Linked DNA regions of Homo sapiens: regions 2, 3, 4, 5, 6 and 7 are each linked to region 1. The links are contacts of gene promoters, found by promoter capture Hi-C in blood cells and fetal thymus (Javierre and others, 2016). All regions are on one chromosome and are shown on one strand. Each heading gives the region's core, a stretch centred on a gene start or on the middle of the fragment in contact. The rest is flanking DNA. Distances are from core to core; before and after follow the strand shown. Region 1 holds the start of GIN1 (gypsy retrotransposon integrase 1). Region 2 overlaps RGMB-AS1 (RGMB antisense RNA 1). Region 3 overlaps CHD1 (chromodomain helicase DNA binding protein 1). Region 4 overlaps CHD1 (chromodomain helicase DNA binding protein 1). Region 5 overlaps CHD1-DT (CHD1 divergent transcript). Region 6 has its middle 93 kb from the start of CHD1. Region 7 has its middle 180 kb from the start of CHD1.

The links. Contacts are between HindIII fragments. The CHiCAGO score rates a contact against its expected background, and 5 or more counts as called.
Region 2: a fragment that was not itself captured here is called in contact with the fragment with the promoter of GIN1 in region 1 in 2 of 17 cell types (non-activated CD4 T cells and total B cells); the score reaches 8.3 in non-activated CD4 T cells.
Region 3: a fragment that was not itself captured here is called in contact with the fragment with the promoter of GIN1 in region 1 in 1 of 17 cell types (total CD4 T cells); the score reaches 6.7 in total CD4 T cells.
Region 4: a contact is called between a fragment that was not itself captured here and the fragment with the promoter of GIN1 in region 1, in 1 of 17 cell types (neutrophils). The highest score is 7.0, in neutrophils.
Region 5: a fragment that was not itself captured here is called in contact with the fragment with the promoter of GIN1 in region 1 in 1 of 17 cell types (total CD4 T cells); the score reaches 6.7 in total CD4 T cells.
Region 6: a fragment that was not itself captured here is called in contact with the fragment with the promoter of GIN1 in region 1 in 1 of 17 cell types (non-activated CD4 T cells); the score reaches 5.7 in non-activated CD4 T cells.
Region 7: a contact is called between a fragment that was not itself captured here and the fragment with the promoter of GIN1 in region 1, in 1 of 17 cell types (naive CD4 T cells). The highest score is 5.1, in naive CD4 T cells.

Annotation. Positions count from the first base shown.
Region 1 is chr5:103,118,741-103,121,473 of GRCh38, forward strand. GIN1 (gypsy retrotransposon integrase 1) reads right to left here and starts at 1,398. Exons shown (of 8, transcript NM_017676.2): 1 at 1,324-1,398. PPIP5K2 (diphosphoinositol pentakisphosphate kinase 2) reads left to right here and starts at 1,561. Exons shown (of 31, transcript NM_001276277.3): 1 at 1,561-1,748. RefSeq lists enhancers at 534-1,035, 1,036-1,536, 1,372-1,631, 1,662-1,851, 1,902-1,961. The HindIII fragment of the contact is 9,897 bases long and covers 1,356-2,733 here.
Region 2 is chr5:98,769,103-98,771,835 of GRCh38, forward strand. It overlaps RGMB-AS1 (RGMB antisense RNA 1), which reads right to left. Exons shown (of 2, transcript NR_033932.1): 2 at 516-2,082. It also overlaps a transcript of RGMB not described here. Among named protein-coding and RNA genes, the nearest start is that of RGMB-AS1, 2.6 kb to the right of the region's middle. RefSeq lists an enhancer at 1,259-1,759. The HindIII fragment of the contact is 279 bases long and covers 1,189-1,467 here.
Region 3 is chr5:98,856,161-98,858,893 of GRCh38, forward strand. It overlaps CHD1 (chromodomain helicase DNA binding protein 1), which reads right to left. Exons shown (of 36, transcript NM_001270.4): 35 at 2,020-2,230; 36 at 1-565. The coding sequence ends at 220. Among named protein-coding and RNA genes, the nearest start is that of CHD1-DT, 71 kb to the right of the region's middle. The HindIII fragment of the contact is 664 bases long and covers 1,025-1,688 here.
Region 4 is chr5:98,878,351-98,881,083 of GRCh38, forward strand. CHD1 (chromodomain helicase DNA binding protein 1) reads right to left here. Exons shown (of 36, transcript NM_001270.4): 22 at 2,726-2,733; 23 at 1,202-1,378. Among named protein-coding and RNA genes, the nearest start is that of CHD1-DT, 49 kb to the right of the region's middle. The HindIII fragment of the contact is 1,827 bases long and covers 571-2,397 here.
Region 5 is chr5:98,952,308-98,955,040 of GRCh38, forward strand. The region is part of intron 1 of CHD1-DT (CHD1 divergent transcript); the gene reads left to right. It also overlaps the pseudogene RPS9P3. Among named protein-coding and RNA genes, the nearest start is that of CHD1, 25 kb to the left of the region's middle. The HindIII fragment of the contact is 7,031 bases long and covers 1-2,733 here.
Region 6 is chr5:99,020,640-99,023,372 of GRCh38, forward strand. No RefSeq gene overlaps it. Among named protein-coding and RNA genes, the nearest start is that of CHD1, 93 kb to the left of the region's middle. The HindIII fragment of the contact is 876 bases long and covers 894-1,769 here.
Region 7 is chr5:99,105,041-99,107,773 of GRCh38, forward strand. No RefSeq gene overlaps it. Among named protein-coding and RNA genes, the nearest start is that of CHD1, 180 kb to the left of the region's middle. The HindIII fragment of the contact is 4,510 bases long and covers 1-2,733 here.

The DNA.
Region 1 (2,733 bases), core at 148-2,647:
TGAAAGTTGTTTTTTTTTTTTCAAAGCCCATACATATGAGAAAATGGCTTGAAACTGTAATATTCGAGACAAATATAAATATCTTCTTATACTCTGATTGCTAAGTAAAGGTATCATTTACAAGGGGGATTAAGTGGTTTCTACTACATAAAGAAAGACTGTCCTGGGACTTCTTTGGATATGCTCATATTTTCAAGAATTTCTCTTAAAATCATTACTTAATGTACTTAAACATGTAGGAATAAGAAAAAATGAAAGTGATTGATTACAACTTGTAGTTTTGCAAGAGGAATGTCAGGGTCACATTTGGTTAAGCTTTATACACTTTGTCCCCTCCATAAAAGCAAATAAAATCAACTCATTGCTTAATTCCTTTAATAATTTTGTGTTCAATAAAGTAAGGCAGTTAGGTATTATGTCAAGATTAGGACTTAACTGTTTCACCAAGGGTTAAAAACAAAGCCACCAATTTAAGCCCCTAAAAGGTTATAATACCCGCTGGTTCCATCTTAAAATCTGCAATTTTCAATCAACATGTTAACTTGGATCGGAATTCTGACATTTGAATTATTCTATTTTAAGCTCCAAAAAATGGACACGCACAATTTTATGCAACGTCAAGGACCTGTAAATTTAAATACACTTCTCTGTAATCTGGTTCACTTCAGAGTACAAATTCATTGAACAAAAAAATGCCTTCATCGCCATATGCATTCACATGAAGCCACATGGGATAAATGCATTTCCACTTTAAAAAGTATCTACTTTGGTTCAGAAATGCCCATTTAAGAAAAACCTACACTGAGATAAAGTGGACATTTTTCTTTTAAAACTACGTGACAGGATTCCCTCTTGACCTCACGTTTCTCCCCGCCACGTATTTAAATTTGGGGCAAAATTTCTGATTAAATGACTGATCAAAGTAATGGGGAGAATTCTTCAACGCCGGCCAAAAGTGCTTAGTCTCAAACGCTGTGAGGGAGCATTTCCTAAGCTTTGGGCGACTCGTTAACGGAATCTTAAGGGCAAGGTCCAACCACACTCAGAATCAGCAGGAAAATGACCGTTTGGTAAAACTCAATTACACCCAGTAGGCACCTCCCCAGGCCCGAAACAGCACTCGCCCTTTCTGCTCAGCTAGCGCGGGACATCGCAACGCCCAAGGCCCTCCTATCTCAAAGGCGCTTGCGCAAAATCTCCCCACAGACTCAATTAAACCCTTCCTTAGGCCGGTCGAGGCGAATGGTTTTGAAATTACTGTCGGGTTACGCCTCACTTTAAAAAACAGTAGGTATGACACAGCACACCAGAACGACCACTCACCGAGGTGGTCCTAAATTCAAACGACAGATTTAAGCTTCCTCTCGTGATTTATCTCGCGCTGCCGGAAGCGGAACTACCCGGGTCCTTTAGAGGGCAGTCCTTTGGGGAACCTTGGAACCACGGTCAGAAAGGTTAGGACTGATCATTTGGCTCTTGCCGGAAATCGTTCCGCCCGGTGAGGTTTCGGCGTGAGACCCGAGGAGGGCGGGGAAGAGGCGTGACGGAGATTCCTGAGGTGTAGTAGCCTGAGGTTCCCTTATGTGGCCCTATAGCTGTTACTGAAGGAAGTAGCCTACGTCCACGCCTACAACTGAAGTCTCTTGACAAACACCTCACCCCTGCCTCCGGGATGAAAGGGGGTAACCTAGACCTGAATGGGCTTGACCATCTCACAACTGCTCGCGTGACGACCGCATTCGTGGCAGGTGAGGGCCCAAAACCGGAGGAGAACCGGAGATGCGGAACCTGATCATGCCAGGGTTGAGGCGGCTGCTGGGCTTCTGCTTTGTCTCCTGTGCTCTGCAGACCCTAAACACATGCTCCACCGAGGGGCTTGTGCTGGAGAGAATGACAGCCTGGGCGTGGAGTGACAGTACAGCTTTGAGGGTCCTTTCGCGCCTTGATTTCTCCTCCTGCTCCCCCATGGCTTCCCTTTTTCATTTCTTGGGTTCGAGACGCCAGAAATTGAAGATCAGCTAAAAGGGAACCGCTGAGCTTCTACCCCACGCTGTGCCTGGCTCCACTGAAGTGATTAGCCTCGAGTTATGGGACTGCTGTGGGTAGAGGTGGCTTTTTAAAAAATTTTCTGCCTTAGTCTTTATCCCTCTCTCTGTCAACCCCACACCCACTTTAAAATAACAAAAGCCTCATGTGTTGCAGCTTTTCATAGTAGGGACCGAGGCTGCAGGGCACTGCCGCACCTAGTCATTTGGAGGTCGTTGCAGCCTTCTGCGCCTTGAAGAAGAAGGGGCCAGGGTGATGATCCCTGGATCTCATTCACGAGGTTCTTGACCACTTCCTGGGAGATTGCGACTCTTGGTGTCCTTTGGCTAGTAGTTGTCTTGCTGGAAGGCTTAACTGTGGAAGTGGGAAGCATAGCTGACCTTAGCACGTAAAATCCTCGCTCTACACTGGGACAGGATTTTGTTTTGCTATTGAGAATTCTTAAATGAAATAGATAATTTTTTTGTCTCAGATAGATAAAATAATAACGATAGTTGCCATTAACTGAGTCTTATGTGTGCCGAGTGCTTTACATAGTTTGTCATTTATTCCTCTCAACAATTCCAGGAGGTATGTTAGATTATTATCACCATTTTACAGAGTTAGAAATGGAGGCTTTGAACAGTCAAGCAACTTGCTCTATTAAACATTTGTTATAAGTAAACGTTTGAATCTGTGTTAAAAACC
Region 2 (2,733 bases), core at 78-2,577, 4.3 Mb before region 1:
GCAAGATTGAGTGTGGTGGGGGGAAGGCGAAGAGAGAACTGATCCAGGACCTGGACGCGGGGGTCTGCGGCGCCCCTACGCCCCCACGCCCCCAGCCGTCCGCAGTGCCGGAATGAGCCGGATAGCGCCGGCAGGGGGCAGTGTGGCGATATAGGGGTTGCCGGGGGGAGAGGAGGGTCTCTGTTCACCTCTATTTGAGGCTGACTGGGGAGAAAGCTGCCTGGAGGAAGCTGCTGGGGTGCGGGGGGCTGAGGGATTTGGCTCCCCGCCCTCTCCCCTAGATGGCGGAGAAATCGGGCTAGCTGGAAGGGCGCAGCTCCTCTCCCAGAGCTCATTCTGGAGTCGGAGAACTGGGAGAGCGGCCCCCGAGGCGGAGCCTCCCTCCCGCCCCGAGTCGCGCTGCCCCCCACCTGGGGGAGAGGGGCGGGCGCCGCGCTGCCTTCCCTCCGCGCCTCGGCCGCGTGGCTTGCGGCTTATTTTCCCAGCTGGCAAGCGTCGCGCTGCAGACAAGGGAATGCCTGTGGTGAGTTGTTTATTTTGTTGAAGTTTGCGGTGGGCCCGGGGGACGTGGGGGGCGAGCGGCAGGCAGCGGCCGGGACTGTTTTGTTTAGGTCTCCATCCACCTGTGGGGTATAAATCTGCCAGCCTCAAGGCGGCGGGGGACCGGAGTGAGAAAGCTCTGACGCTCCCAAAAGCCCCTTTTCGCAACTTACAGATCTAGGACCACATTTGATTCTCCACGCCTGGAACCGGCTAGATCCTAGTTTACGCTCACCCCGCCCTCCAGCCTCCCATCAACGCTTCCCGCACCCGCTGTGTGCAGGGCTGGCGCTCCGCAGAGCAAACAGCGCCCACGACCCAGGGACAGCTGGCCACCGAAGTCCCTCCCCGGCGCCCTTCCCCGTTCCTTGAGGATAGGGGAGCTGAGGTTTTCATGTGAAGGGCGCCCATGAAATTCGTGGGAACTTGTTCTGGCGTCTTCTGGAGTGGAGTTCTTTCAGGGGTTTCGGGTCTGCCCGGGACTACAAAATGGGATCCTGGGTTGGCTGGAGTTTCCCAGACTAGGCTGGAGAGAGGTCGGCTGTTGGCTCGCGGGAGAGCCCAGAGGAACCCCTTGGGCGATGGCAGTCAAGACCGGCGGCTGCGTTTGCCTGGAAGAAAAGCCTAAATACATTAGCGAGCTGGTAAAGCTTTTAAGGCCTTCTTGGGAGCGAGTGGCTGGCTAATGAGAGGTTAATTTTGTTTCGAAGGGAAGGCTGCACTGGTTTCCTGAGATAAATGGACAGGAAGCGCATTACCTCCGCGCGCTGGCAAGCGGCTCCCAAATGCTTTTTGCACCTGCCGTTTTGAGCGGTGAGAGCAGCGGCGGAGCCCGCAGGGATTGCGGGGGCCCGTTGTCTACGAGCGGGTGATGAGCCCCCCGCAAGCCCCGGGCTCTCTCCCTCCGCGAGTGCATTGCTCACGCCAAGCTTTGGGACTCTTCTCTCACACCCAGGTCCTGCGTGTTCCGAAGTTCAGGGGCCCCCTGATCCCGCTGAGCCCCCTCCAGGAGCGAAAGGGTTAAGAATGATGTAAGTACAGGCACTTGATTTCTCAAGTCGCCCGCTTGGCCCTCTTCCAAGTTGTACTTTCCTTATTTTCTCTCCTTTCCTTTCCTTACTGTTCTAACGCTTTTTAATAAACTTTCACTCTTGCTCTGAAAAAAAAAATGATGTAAGTACAAACCACGAGCTGCTTGACGCTGAGCTGTTGGACTCCGGGCTATTTCAGCCGCTGCTTTGGGTACACAGTGGCCGGGGAGCAGCCGGGGAGCCCTTACTCTAGAAAGGATTGCACAAATCGCAAGCTTAGGTGATCTGTTAAGCAGTCAGAGATTCTCCTGTTAGATTTCTGGAAATGGAGACATATTAACTGGAGAACAGTTAAAAACATCACGTATAGGCTCAGGAAATGAAACTGCATCTTGTTTAGAATCCATTAGTGTTTCTGGCATGTGTTTTAATTCTGTCCACTTGCACGTTCATGCCGTAGTATGCTTTGCTGGATTCTCCGGATGTACTGTTCAGGTCTCCTCCTTCCTTTCTGAAAACAAAGAGAAAGGGAGAAAGAGTACCAGTGGCAAGAAACAGGGTGGATGTGTGAATTACACAAGTCATCAGCCACTTCATGATTTTTTTTCTGATTAAAACATAAAACTTTTATAAGTCACCGATTTTTTTGTTTGTGTTCTAGCTCCCTCCCCGATTTTTCTTTGTACAATATAAAGTCGTTTGTAACTTGCAGCTCACGGGCTTGAGGAGTGGCTGCGGTATAAGCGACTATTCACTACGCTCTTGCTTTCCAAGCCAATTCCTGATCTTGTGAACAGTACGAATTTACCCGCGAGTGTGTCAACTGACCTATGTCTTGAAAATAGGAACCACCTTGCGGTTTACTTGTGAAAATTAGCATTTTCCTCTAGCGGCTGAACACTTATGCAGCAATAAAAAGTGAATTGTTAGGCTTATAAATCTCGAGCTTGTCAAATTTTACAACAGAGGAGCAATAAAGCACCTTATAGAGATGAAGTTTTTCCTCTGAAGAACAGTTCCGTTTAACGACACCAGGATTTGCAATGACTCGAGGACGCCCTCTATTGATAGGAAAATCTAGAGCACCCGTGTACTTATGGAACAGGATATAGGGGGAGGGGAGTAAAAAATCATAGAAAGTCACGAGTGGAAAGACCCAAAC
Region 3 (2,733 bases), core at 107-2,606, 4.3 Mb before region 1:
AAGTACTACAATTTTGTAGTACAGTGCAGCATAATCCTTAAATATAAAAATATTTTCTCTTCTGTTGGGATAATAGACCTTGCATCCTGGAAAGAAGTAACAATACTGCTACTGATAGAAGATCTGTTTATATCTTTCAAGTCATGTAAGGCAATTACTGTGTTGGTTTATGATATATGGCTAAAAGAAAAGTCCAGAAAGACGAAGTATCAGTTTTTGTTATGTTTTCCGACTACTCCAGGTATGCTCCGGTGTACTTTTGTGTTCAACTGAATGTTCAAATGGAGATCTGGAGCCATAAGGAGATCTCTGATCTAGTGGTGACCTAGGGCCACTGCTGGAAGCTCTGTGGTCCATTTGCCAGTCTGAGTGATACCTATAATCCCTGGAAGATTTATGGTGCGTATATTCAGAACTTGACCGGTGGTCTGAATGTAACCGATGATCTGAGTGAGAACGATGATCAGAATGAGATCTATCTTTTAAACTTCCTTCCAAATTTGACCTGTGATCTCTACTCCTGTGATCATCCAGTTTTCTGTGTTTCTCTCTGTCACTGTAATATCTAATAAAGAAAAATTGAGAATTTTAGACAAATCATGCAAATTAAAATGTTTCCAAATAAAAGATAACTAAAAAACATAAAAATACCTTAAAACATGTTTTTAATTGTATAGAAATTCAGTGTTGCATTATAAAACTTACTTAATTAACTCAAAAATCACTGGATATATCTCTTTGGAAAAACTATTTGATTCATAAAACTAAAGCGAACCATACAAAACCCCTAAAATAGCATCTAATTTCACATGGCTATTTTAGATAATTAGCTGCTTTTTATTTTACACATCATTTATATGACTGCATCTTAATTGTCTGGAAGCTGAAATTAAGATTATTACAACTATCTGAAATACTCCTGAGACCAGAGCCTTTTACCAACCTCTAAGCAGGAAAAAGTTTAAAAATGCTAGAATGCAGTCTATGCTGAAAAATTTTTCACTGGTTGCTGATGCCTATTAAAAGCTTCCTCAAGTTTGACTAGTTATATAGTAAGACTCGACACATGAATCATTACGAAATTTACTCCATACAAACATGTGACAGCTTGATAAAAAATAAATGTGGCAGTTTAATGAGAATTATTCTCTAAAATGAGTGCCTTTTCCAAACTGACACACACACAACTGTAACTATATTGCATAAGCCTGTGAAATATATACTATAAATCTGCCTTTTCCTTTTAATTATTTGACCCCTTCAAATAACAGCCATTCTACAACTGATGTGTTCATAGTGCTGACAGAGGTTCTCAAAGAAATTATTGTAATGAACACTAAAATACAAAGATGTCTTCTAATTTGTTTCTTCTACTTACTATAAAAGCATAAATACTATAAATCTCAGTTTTCAAGTTTACTTTTAGTAGTGATCATTAACTACCGAAAATACTTCTTTATCAATAAAGGAATAAAAAGTATTCTGATGTTATTACACTGAGGTTGCTTACTGTTCAAAGGCTTCAAAAAACAATAAACAAAAAACCTTCCTGGTTCCAATAATATTCCAGATTGCTGAGGTTAAGTTTTACCTCAATGAGATGTGTTCACATATATTAATTTTTCCCGACTTTTTAAAAATATGGAATGCAAAATTTCCTAAACCAAACCTGAATCACTATTATATCAAGCTTTTATCCCACTTATTATATTTTAAAGAGTATTTGAGCCAATATTCTTCAAAACGAACAATGAACCCCACGCAATTTATAATCATACAACTCCCTACATCACCTTACTACATATTTTGATCTCAATTTTATAATTCAAAATCCATTTTATAGAGAAATTCAGTTCTTAAAATATATACATTTTTCTTAATTATATACAACACCTTTATTTCACAAGATTTGTTTTGACTGCATGAAGATTGAATTGGCTGACAGGTCAAATACAGGAACATCATGATAAGGAGAAAAACATGCATAAGCAAAATTTCTAAAGTGACTGCCAAGTTTACCTGCTGTCTTGCTTGTAGTGATCCCAATCACGATGGTCTTTACCATTACTAAAAGAAGAATAGGGTCTTTTCCTGGAATCACTTTTTTTGTAAGAATCTCCCTGATGTCGGTCTTTATGATGATCATGGTACTGAGTTAAGTGTCTATCAGAGGAATAACTGTCCCTGCTGCTATCATCGTGATTTGTATTCTCTTTTAATCTTTCCACATCTGTTAGATAAGTACAACTTTTATTAATGACCTTAAAAATAATGTGGCAAAAAAAACTTAGTTGATAGATAACAAGAATTCGTTTCAACCCTTGCCAAAACAAAATCGGTTCCCAAATACAAGCAGTTAAAGCATTTAGAAATGGTGTATAAAAGCAGTACTAAGGATTAATTAAAAAAGGTTGCTTGATTCTGAAATGTCACAAAAACTAAAAAATATGGGACCTATTCCTTTCTCAGACTATACTTTTGTGACTCTGATACAGAAAGAATGCATTACTATTCCAAATTACATAAAAAAGAATATTTGTTCATTTTAACAGTCATTCTACAATTTCTAGAAACTGAGAAAAGGATGATTAAAAGGATAATAAACTAAAATGAACTACAGTTTAAGAGAATACATTTTACATAATAATGTAGGTATGTATCAGAATTACTGTATCTCCTTAATATAAAGGTACTTATAAATAAAAACAAGGTAAGAACCTTTTTTATCATTTG
Region 4 (2,733 bases), core at 234-2,733, 4.2 Mb before region 1:
AAGAAAAAACAAAAAGCTCTACCCTTCGGGGAATGGTAGCAGGGCAGGGACTAGAGTGGGGCAAGCCCCTCATTTGCCCCAGGCTTAAAATTTAAGGAAGCACGAAAAAACTCAGCAATCAAGACAAAAAATCTTATATCCTAAAAACCAAAGGATACTAGAAAAAGAAATTAGTCTTAGAATTTTTTTCCTTTTTGGCAATATAGCTTGGCATGGCACTATTACAGTTATTCAAAATTTTGGTATTTGTTTACTTAGGCCACTGAATAAACACCAACAAATTTTTAAAAATTAAAATTACATAAAATATGCTTTCTGAACATGACAGAATTAAACTACCAATGATTAACAAACATAGTTGAAAAATTTCCTAAATATCTGAACATTTTAAAACATACTTCTAAAAAAACCTGTGGGTCAAAGATAAGTCATATGGGAAATTTTAAAATGTTTTTAAATTAAGGAAAATATAAAAATAGATTTGGAAGATTCAGAAAAAGTAACGCTTAAAGAAAAATTTGTAGCATTAAATGCCGATATTAGAAAAGAGAGATTACATTTCTATATCTAAGCTTGCACCTTAAGAAACTGAATAAAAGAGGCCAGGTGCAGTGGCTCGTGCTATAGTCCCAACATTTTGGTAGGCCAAGGCAGATGGATCACTTAAGCCCAGAAGTTCCAGACCAGCCTGGACAACATGGTAAAACTCCATCTCTACAAAAAGAATACAAAAATCAGCTGGGTGTGGTGGGACACACCTGTAGTCCCAGCTATTTGGGAGGCTGAAGTGGGAGGATCATCTGAGGCCGGGAGGTTAAGGTTGCAGTGAGCCAGAATTGTGCCACTGCACTCCAGCCTTGGCAATAGAGCAAGATGCTGTCACCAAAGAAAAAAGAAAAGAAAAGAAAGAAAACAGCAAATTAAATCAAAAGCAGAAAGGAAGAAATAATAAATTGTGGAAACTCATGAAATTAAAAACACACACACACACAAAAATCAATGAAACCAGGAGCAGGTTCTTTGAAAAGATGAATAAAAGAGGAAGAAACACTTCTCAACTCATTTCATGAGGCAAACATTATCAAATCAAGGCCATTACAAGAAAAGAAAACTATGGACTGATACCTCGTAGAAACAAACAAAATCAGCCCAGGTTGAATACTCTTACTTTATAGAAATATCTTTAAAATTGCAAAATCACCTGTTTTGCACAATTTCTCATTCTTGGGAGCATATAAATTTCTTCAAGTTCCTTTTGTCTTTCTTCTTCTTCTAATCGTCTTCTTTGATCTTCTGGAATAATTTCCTCCCAATTCTTTGAATTTCTTTCAGGTTCCAACTCAATGTCATCCTCATCCATATTTGAGAAGTTGGCAACCTGATAAATTTCAGAATTTTAAGAGTAACTGTTACAGAAAAATTGATCCCTAAAAGTTTTTTTTAAGGGGAAGAACTGGCATGCTCCTTAGGATAATGAACATGGCTGTGGACTAAACCAAATATAACTTCTAAACAACCTAGATTCATTTCTTCATTAGGGCAAAGCAGATCAAACCAAATGACATCTAATAATCCTCTAGGAATGATTTTATTTTGCCCTACTGCTCAACAAAATTAGTAGCATCACAGAACTAAGAGCAGTTAACAGAACAACAAAAAAGTAATTTATACTATTAACATGCTAAATAATCTGCAGAAATTCTCAGACCAGTCCACCTATCAAGTATTGTAGAACAATCTAATATCATTTTTATGGTCACAAAAACACTATCTAAAGAGCTACTGGCAGAGACATAGAGCTCTTTGAGAGCACACTAATTTCTGTGAGGATTACATAAGATAGCACATTTAAGGTACTATGCAAGGTCTGGTATACAGAAAGCACCCATTAAGGCTAACTATCACAGCCGGGCGAAGTGGCTCACGCCTGTGATTCCAGAAACCTTCACCTCTTAACCAGGATTACTCAACATTCTGTCTTATCTCCCCCTGCTATAGCTCTTTCCTCACTACAGTCAATCAACCACAAAGTAGTCAGAATGATTCATTAAAATTATAAAAGTTTTTTATTCACTGTGTGGGGTACACTGTAGGTGTTCCATAAATATTTGTCAAATGAACACATGAAATGAATTGATCTTTAAAAACCACAGTTCAGAGAAAACAGCTAAGATGTAGAGAAACCTGTTTCTTCAAACAAATGGCACTTAACTTACTCCATGAGGTCAGTTGACTTACGTTGTTTTAGGACTCCTTTCAACTCATTGACCCTCAACAAACCAGGGATATTAAGTATCAATATATAGTAGCTTATTGCTTACTTTGACTGATTTACTTGAGTTTTCTTATTTGTGATAAGTTAATGTCAAAAACTGCTTCAAAAAAATATCAGCTGAAAGCTTTCAGTCATGGAAATCTAAGTAAGAGATCACACTGATTCATTTATTTACCTAAGTATTTAAGGACATGCTATTTGCCAAACACTATTCTAGTTGCTAATTAGGAAACAACAGCTCTTTCCACCCAACTAAATGTAACTTCATAAATGGGTTTGGTCTCTTTCAAATCAGTTTGCTACTGGTTTGTCTGAACAAGAGAGAGTAGTTTTTACATAACACAGCAATCTTCCTGATTATGCTTAAAGAAAGATTAACAAACCACTAAATGACATAACTCAATTCCTCTCAATTTATGTAATTACAAGGAAAATTTTGTTTAAATCTACCTTGAACT
Region 5 (2,733 bases), core at 96-2,595, 4.2 Mb before region 1:
CTTAAAAGTTCTCTGTGACTTGACCTAGGGTGTTTTTAACATGGAAAAGAGCAAACTTATTGGGAAACTAAATAGTCCCAAGACTTCAGGAGAATAAAATAATCCCAGTGACCTTTTATGCTGTTGTGGTGTGAATATCGCACCCCGAATTAATATTTGAAATTTATTAGCCAATGTGGTAATATAAAATGTGGGGCTGTTCGAAGGTGATTAAGGCCATAAAAGGGGTTACGGAAGTGGATTTTCTCTCTCCCACTCTTTTGCCATGCAAGGACACAGCATCCATTCCCTTTTTTACCTTTCTGCCTTCTGCCATGTGAGAAGGCCCTCACCAGACATCAAATGCCAGTGCCTTGATCTCAGACTTTCCAGCCTTCAGAACTGTGAGGAATAAATTTCTATTTTGTATAAATTACCCAGTCTGTGTTATTTTGTTACAGCAACACAAATGGACTAAGACATATACCATTAGCACTTTTGGAACATGATTTACTTTACTGGCACGGTACATATATAAAATAAACTCTTTTATCCTTTTGAAAATCAATAAATATGCATTGAATGCCTATGTGTTTATGTAGGTGTACACAGGCTATAATAGGAGAGCTCTAAGATATTTAAACATTTATTCTCACATCATTAGTTACTTGATAGAGAGTATAAAGGGCAGAAAGACTTGAAGTAGTGGGAGCATAGCCACTGCTGATTAAAGACAAAAAATAAGAAAGTAGACAATTATTTGTCAGTTAAAAGTAAAATAAAATTTTAAAAAATTAAGAAAATATATATGTGAAGTTCTATGTCCTTAAAAGGTCAGCTTACATGTAACTTTTCTGGAACAAATATATTTACTGAAGTTATATATATATATTTATATATATAAATATTTACTGAATTATATATATATTTACTGAACATATATATTTACTGAACAAATATATTTACTGAAGTAATATAATATATATATTATATTATATATATAAAGGTATACTTTAATTTAGCACTACTGATATATGAAATTCCACATTTATAAAGTATACAAACTGTATTAGGGTTCTCTAGAGAGACAGAACTAATAGGATATATATATGGGAATTTATTAAGTATTAACTCACATGATCACAAGGTCCCACAATAGGCCATCTGCAGGCTGAGGATCAAGGAGATGCAGTCCGAGTCCCAAAACTGAAGAACGTGGAGTCCCATGTTCGAGGGCAGGAAAGATCCAGCATGGGAGAAAGATGTAGGCTGGGAGGGTAGCCAGTCTCGTCTTTTCACATTTTTCTTTCTGCTTTTTTATTCTAGTCCCACTGGCAGCCGATTAGATGGTGCCCACCCAGATTAAGAATGGGTCTGCCTTTCCCAGCCCCGGGACTCAAATGTTAATCTCCTTTGGCAACACCCTCACAGACACACACAGGATCAATACTTTGTATCCTTCAACCCAATCAAGTTGACACTCAGTATTAACTATCACACAAACTGAAGTGGATCATTTGGCTTTCCAAATGGTTATGCTGTGAGATTAATCATGTATTTCACAAATTGAACACCAGTAATATTCAAAAATATTTTGCAACCAAACACACTTTATGACATCATTAAATGATTCTTTAATTTCACAAAGAAAACACAAATTCAGCACCCCCAAAATGAAAATTATGTATACAATAAAGCATAATGTAAATGTTATATAATGATATGACATATAACTTTATTAATACTGAGTTACACCATGTTGTGTAGTGAGTACTAGAATATGTATTTGAATACAATACTTAGCTAAGCATCTTTATTTCTTGACATACTTTGACTTTAGACATTTTATTTTATTATATTTTTTTTAAGACACAGGACCTCACTCTGTCCCCCAGGCTGGAGTGCAGTGGTATGATCATAGCTTACTGCAGCCTTGAACTCCTGGGCTCAAGCAATCTTTCTGCCTTGGCCTCCCAAAGGGATTACAGGCTGAACCACCGCATGTGGTGTATTTTATTTTTTTAAATATATTTTTCTAGCCCCTTTCGCAGTAACCGGGACCTACCCTTAGGTGAGGCACAGATGGACACGCAGAGTCAACACACTAGTGGTCCCAAGCTGGGTCGGAAAACCTGTGTGATCACAGGGAGACCCTTTGAGAAGTCCCCCTTCAACCAAGAGCTAAAACTGATAGGCAAGTATGGCCTCCAGAGCAAACGTGACATCTGAAGGGTTAAATTTACCCTGGACAAGATCTGCAGGGCTGCCCAGGAGCTGCTGATGCTTGTTGAGAAGGACCCATGGCATCTGTTTGAAGGCAGTGCCCTGCTGTGGTGACTTATTCACATCAGAGTGCGGTACAGGGGCAGAATGAAACTAGATTGCATCCTAGGCCTGAAGATTGAGGCTTTCTTGCAGAGATGACTGCAGACCCAGCTCTTCAAGCCAGGAGTGACCAAGTCCAGTCATCATGCCCCTGTGCTGATCCACTAGCACCATATCTAGGTCTGCAGGTGGTGAACATCCTGTCTGTCCTTCATTGACTGCCTGGACTCCCAGAAGCACGGCAATTTCTCTCTTTGTTCTTTGTTTGGCAGTGGTCGCCTGGGCCTCCTGAAGAGAAGAATTCCAAGAAGGGCCAGGGTGGGGCTGGAGTGCCCCTGGAGATAACCAAGAGGAGGGTTAAGCACACCCATCCCCTCCTGGGGTGGTGGATTGTCTAGTTTTCCAGTCAGATAATGGGATCAACACTTT
Region 6 (2,733 bases), core at 82-2,581, 4.1 Mb before region 1:
CTGAGGTGAGAGGATCACTTGAGCCCAGGAGTTCCAGGCAGCAGTGAGCTATGATCATGCCACTCCACTCCAGTCTGCATGACAGAATGAGACCCTGTTTCTATAAAGAAAAACAAAGACAAAACAAAAACTCTATCAGTGCAAATCCAACCTAATTACTTAATTATATTTCCAAAGTTTGAATTCTGGAGGCAAGCACACACTTGACAGGGCAAGGTACAGAGCTTTTATAGAGGCTTGACCCTTCTCCCACATGAAATAATCAGGATTCCTGCTCTCTGCATTCATCTCTGAAGCAGTCACAGGAAGGGGACTTTGGAAAGTCAACTAGTTTTATAACTAAATCTCATTTAGATGTAGTACTTTATATATTTTTAGTGACTGGAAATACCTTATTTTTGTCTAAAAAATTTCAGAGTATTATTATTAAGTGTTTAGAAACAGGGTCTTGCTATGTTGTCAAAACTGTATTCGAACTCCTGGTCTCAAGCAATCCTTCCTCCTCAGCCCCCCAGATAGGTGGGATTACAGGTGCATGGCACGACACTCTGCTAAACATTTCAGATTTATTAGACAAGTTACAAAATATTGAGAGAAAAATACAATAAGCAAATTTTCTGATTGTGATTAATTGCTGAGATCTTATATAAGCAGGAAAACTGCTTCATATATCTCTATTCTTTGCAATGGTAATTATTTCCCTGTAGCTAAGTTTATTACAAGAAAGGAAGACGTATTCAGATACATATTTATTTGGCTGTCTGTCAGTAGGGGAAGAAGGTAAATCTGTATGAATGATGATTTAGTCTAACTTTCATATCTGCTTTCAAATTTTAATTGAACCTGAATCTAACTGTCCTCCCTCACCTCCTCCATCCTTCCCTTCAACTGAAAGCTTGAGGATAATAAATATAACTCTCTTTGTACTCCAAAGAGATAATTTCAAATTCATGGAGAAAATGGGTTAAATGGCAGGTCAGCATGGAAGAGATTAGTACATGGCTAATACCCTATGATGGTGGGACTCAGATCCAGACCAGATGTATTTCTATAAGTAATTGTGTAGAAAAAAGTCTCAGAGACGTTTTAATAGTTGGGTTCATTTATGGCAATTTAATTATTCTCTAGGTTGGCCTGGTTAATCTAGGAGCAAATCTCTTATATGGTTCAATCTAGAGTAGATCTAATCACCCTTTATTTAAAAACTATTTCTTTTATTTTTTAGTAGAGATGAGGTCTTGCTATGTTGCCCAGGCTGCTCACTCCTAGCCCAAATGATCCTCCCTCCTCAGCCTCCCAAAGTGCTGGGATTACAGGCATGAGGCACCACACCTGGCTTTCTAATCTACTCTTAAATAGCAGGATTTGCAGAACTTTCCCTCTTAAGTAGCATACTAAATGTTATTAAGAAAATAAAATCTAAAGTGGTGTTTTTTTCCCCACTGTGAATTGAAAAGGGAAGAGTAAAGCATCTCCTTTCCCCAAACAAGAGAGGAGTGGCCAGCAATTTGTTTTTAAAGGCCTGAGTTAGAACTTCTCTTTCCGCGTCTGGTTAGACAGGAGAAAAGTAAACTGGATTATCTCAGAGGAAGAAAGCACCAAAACTGGATTTTGGAGTTGAACAGATAAATGTGGCTTATCTCCACCAGGTAGCTTCCCAGTGGTGTGGTGACTGAGGGTGCACATTACCCCTTGTGGAGCCAAGGGTGTAGGAGGAAGGACTCTTCCAGAAAGTGCATGGATGCTGTAGCTTTGAGAATCATGGTGAAAGCTTCCAGTGCTCATAATTGCCATGAAGGAAATGGGCTGCTGGTCTTCTATGAACATCACAGGTTTAGAAGATGATAAAGCACAGACTAGAGTCCTTCTCCAAGTTATCAGGGCAGCATTCATCCACCCCAGGGAGACCCTTCTCTCTTGCCTCCCCATGATAACTAATATCTGCTGTTTTTAATTCCATAGTGAGTGTGGGCATAACTCCAAATTTAATTTGATATAAGGAAATAAAGGAATGTGATGCTTTCTGTACCTGAATATATAGAAGGTATTTGCTTTCTAGAAGGTCAGGGCCAAGGTTATTGCTAAAATTAGATTCACAACCAGAGTCATCCTCAAGATTCTCAAAATGTTACTCTGGCATGTTTGTGCCAGAGACATAAAGTTATTCAATGTTGTATTAAGTTTGTGGATATAACCCGATAAATTCCAGGAGGATGGGTGACCAGAAGAGCCTTAAATTTGTTACTCATGAACTATGTTAACATATCTTTCTTTCATATTCACTCAATATTCTGTCTATCTATTCTACTTCTTGTTTCATTTGTTTTCTCTTTTATTATTAATTTATCTTCAGCCTGGCTGAAAATTCAAATATCTGAAGCCAGTAAGGTAATATAGATTAGTAAATGGGGCTGCATTGGAAAATGATGAATAGCAACTGGCTCTTGGCTTCAGTGTCAGGGATGAATATGAGATTGTGTGTGTGTGTGGAGGAAGGACAATATTGACTGCATATACCTTGCCTAAGGAAAGTAGTCACTATTCAGCTGTGGAAAGTGGATCCAGAGTTGATACATTTCAGATTTTTCAAGAGAAGTTGGAAATCCTTTTCTTTAAAAAATGAAATACTCTGTATTTAAAATATTGTCAATTCAAATAAAAACTGTAGAAACACTGTATTCCACCTACAGACTGGATAAATTCAAATGGTGTTGTGTGGGGAAATAGAAACTC
Region 7 (2,733 bases), core at 135-2,634, 4.0 Mb before region 1:
ACAGATAAAGGTGAAGAATGTTGAGGAGAAGACAAAGCCATTATATATGGGTCTCATTTCTGTTCCTTTCTCAGTTTGAACTATTGTTTTACTTCTAGGAGAAAAATAAAATGAAAGGATTCATATAGGACATTCTTTAGGCAAAAATCCTAAATACTGTGTTTTTTCATTAAAATTTTAAAAAGGATTTAATAGAATCAGAAATAGAAATAACTAATGAGGTTGTTGCTATCTGAGATACTTAGAAAATATTTCTGAGTTGCCAATCTTTCTCCTCCTGTTTCTTTTTGTCTTAACACTGAGACAGCATTGAAACTTCTCTTAAAAGGAAATACTCATTGGATGACCGCCAGAGAAACTTGAGCGTCTCTCTTGATAGAGCTTACTAGTTTACTGGTGTTGTGTTAGGGTTAATTGGCAATATGTGCAAGATATAAAAAACCCAATATTTCGTCAAACAAAGAAGTAAACATTTAAGACAATGGCCAAAGCTCAATCTCTTTGGGTCTTAGCTTCCCAATCTAAGTAATACTTTGAGGTTATTGTGTTTGTGGAGGAATGTGTTAGGCAGGGCAGGCCAAGGGATATAATTTAATGACCTGACATAGATGTATATACTAGGAAGATTAACTAGACATCATCTCATGGCCAAAAGTAAATATAATGGAAATTAGATAACAAGGAAGGAAAGATTCTGAGTAAAGATGAGATAAATAATCTCAAAGTAAAAGAAAAAGGAAGGCTCATCTAGGCAATTGTCTTCTCATTCTTTTCAATTCTTCTTGAGGTTGTTTGCCTTTTTTTCTTCCTAATATTATCTTCTGTCTCTCTTTCTCTTTGGTGGTGGCAGGCTGCCTTGAAAATTAGAGAGTCTTTAGAATTCAAACACAGACAAACCAATAATGGGAATGTGGGAGACATTCTTGGCCTTTCTTAAAGGTAGATCTGGGACACTCTAAACATTTATATAAAAGCTAAGCAGCTTTTTAAGGTTTTTTTTAAGAAAGTGGTCAGAGAATTGGTGGGTAGCACTTAATTAAATTCATGATAGCTTTTAGAGCAAGTGAACATCTTTGGAAAAGGACTTGTTTATCTTACTTCCCTTCGTACCTTACCCAGCAAGAATGAACTGAGTGAGAAAGACCTATAATAGTGGAGATAAAGAATAACCAAAAGGAACTCTGTTGTTATCTATAATCTGCTTGCTTGAGTGTGCCTATTTTCTTTCTAAAAAACAGGCTTTCAGATAGTGCTAAATGATATGAGTAACTAATTTTCACTTACAGCAAGATATAATATGCACAGGTATGCATGAATGTCTTCAGGGCTAGTTATCACAGGCTTTGGTTTTACATAAAGATGTTTGGGGTATGTGCAGTGTTTTATTAATTCTAAAGTTGCGTGTTCACAGCACAGTATCTTTCCAGTGTATTAAATATGTTTTTCAGGTATATCTAATTTATTAATTTATTTCTTTTTTGGTCATAAAGCTCTGCATTTGCTACTATTTATTTGAGGCATTCTATTATGCCCAAGATTTCAATGAACATTATTTAGACCTCTGGATAGTAATAAATGTGTCTAAGTATATTTGTTGCCAAAGTGAAAACTATAATAGGATAAAATTATTATATAACATATTGCAAATAAACACATTTGTTTTATATGCAAATTAGATCTTGTTATATACTATATAACCATATTATAAAACACTTAAAATAACATTTCATTAGATTTGGAAGTGCTGCTGCATTATTTTGCAGTTATCCTCATGTGTATTCTTAAATTCTCTCCATATAGGAGATAAATCTAGAAATTTAATGATTTACATTGGGGGATTACACTTTTTTCTAGTCTGGTTTGGTGTTTTTCTGTGGCTTGGTAAAGTTGAAGGGGTTGGATTTTACTGTCCTCATTGCCCTCTCTTTAAGCAAAAATATGGATTAAACAAATTTCATCCTTTACTTGCTAAGTAAACTTAAGTAATATAGTTCAGACTACCCAGTTATAGATAAAATCTGAGGCATTCATTGCTCAAGAGTCATGGATGCTCCTTCTTTTCTTCTGTATTTCTTAATTAGAGGGGTTTCTAATCTAACATGGCATCTACTATTTTTCATTAATGTAAAAGAGATGCCAGAGGGAGCTGACCAGTGTCCCTAAAGACTGCCATTGAAAACACACTAAACATTGGCCAGAGTGTGACAGGAGCCACTTGTATCTCCTTCCTTACACATCTAAATGTTGCAAGACATGCTCAATAACTGAGTATTAGTTGTAAGAATACTGAGAGATGGGATTAGAAGCGTTATTTTCTTTTAGTCCTTAAAAATATATCCATGGACTACGGCCATTTGTTTTCATGTATTTCAGTCATTTTGTCCTCAATTTACTCCTGTTTAGTTCCTAGGTTATGAGTTACTCATAATGCCCCAATTTTTCTATTATTAGATTTTAGTCTTGCACATCGAATATTTCCATCATGACCACTTCTTTTTTATAGAGAAATTGCCAGGTTTCTCAGGGTAAATAATGGAGGAGAAAAGTTGAAGGGCAAAGGATATAGAGAGAAAGCTAACAGACAACTTTTTCCCCAAGGCCACCAAACTGGCAAAGAGATGGACTGGTTCCTAAGTTCCCACATTAGGGTTGGACCTTGGTGTTCCAAAGAGAATGTGATTGATGGTGTTAAGAAAACTTGATCTTCTAGTTATATTAAAAATAGAAATAAAT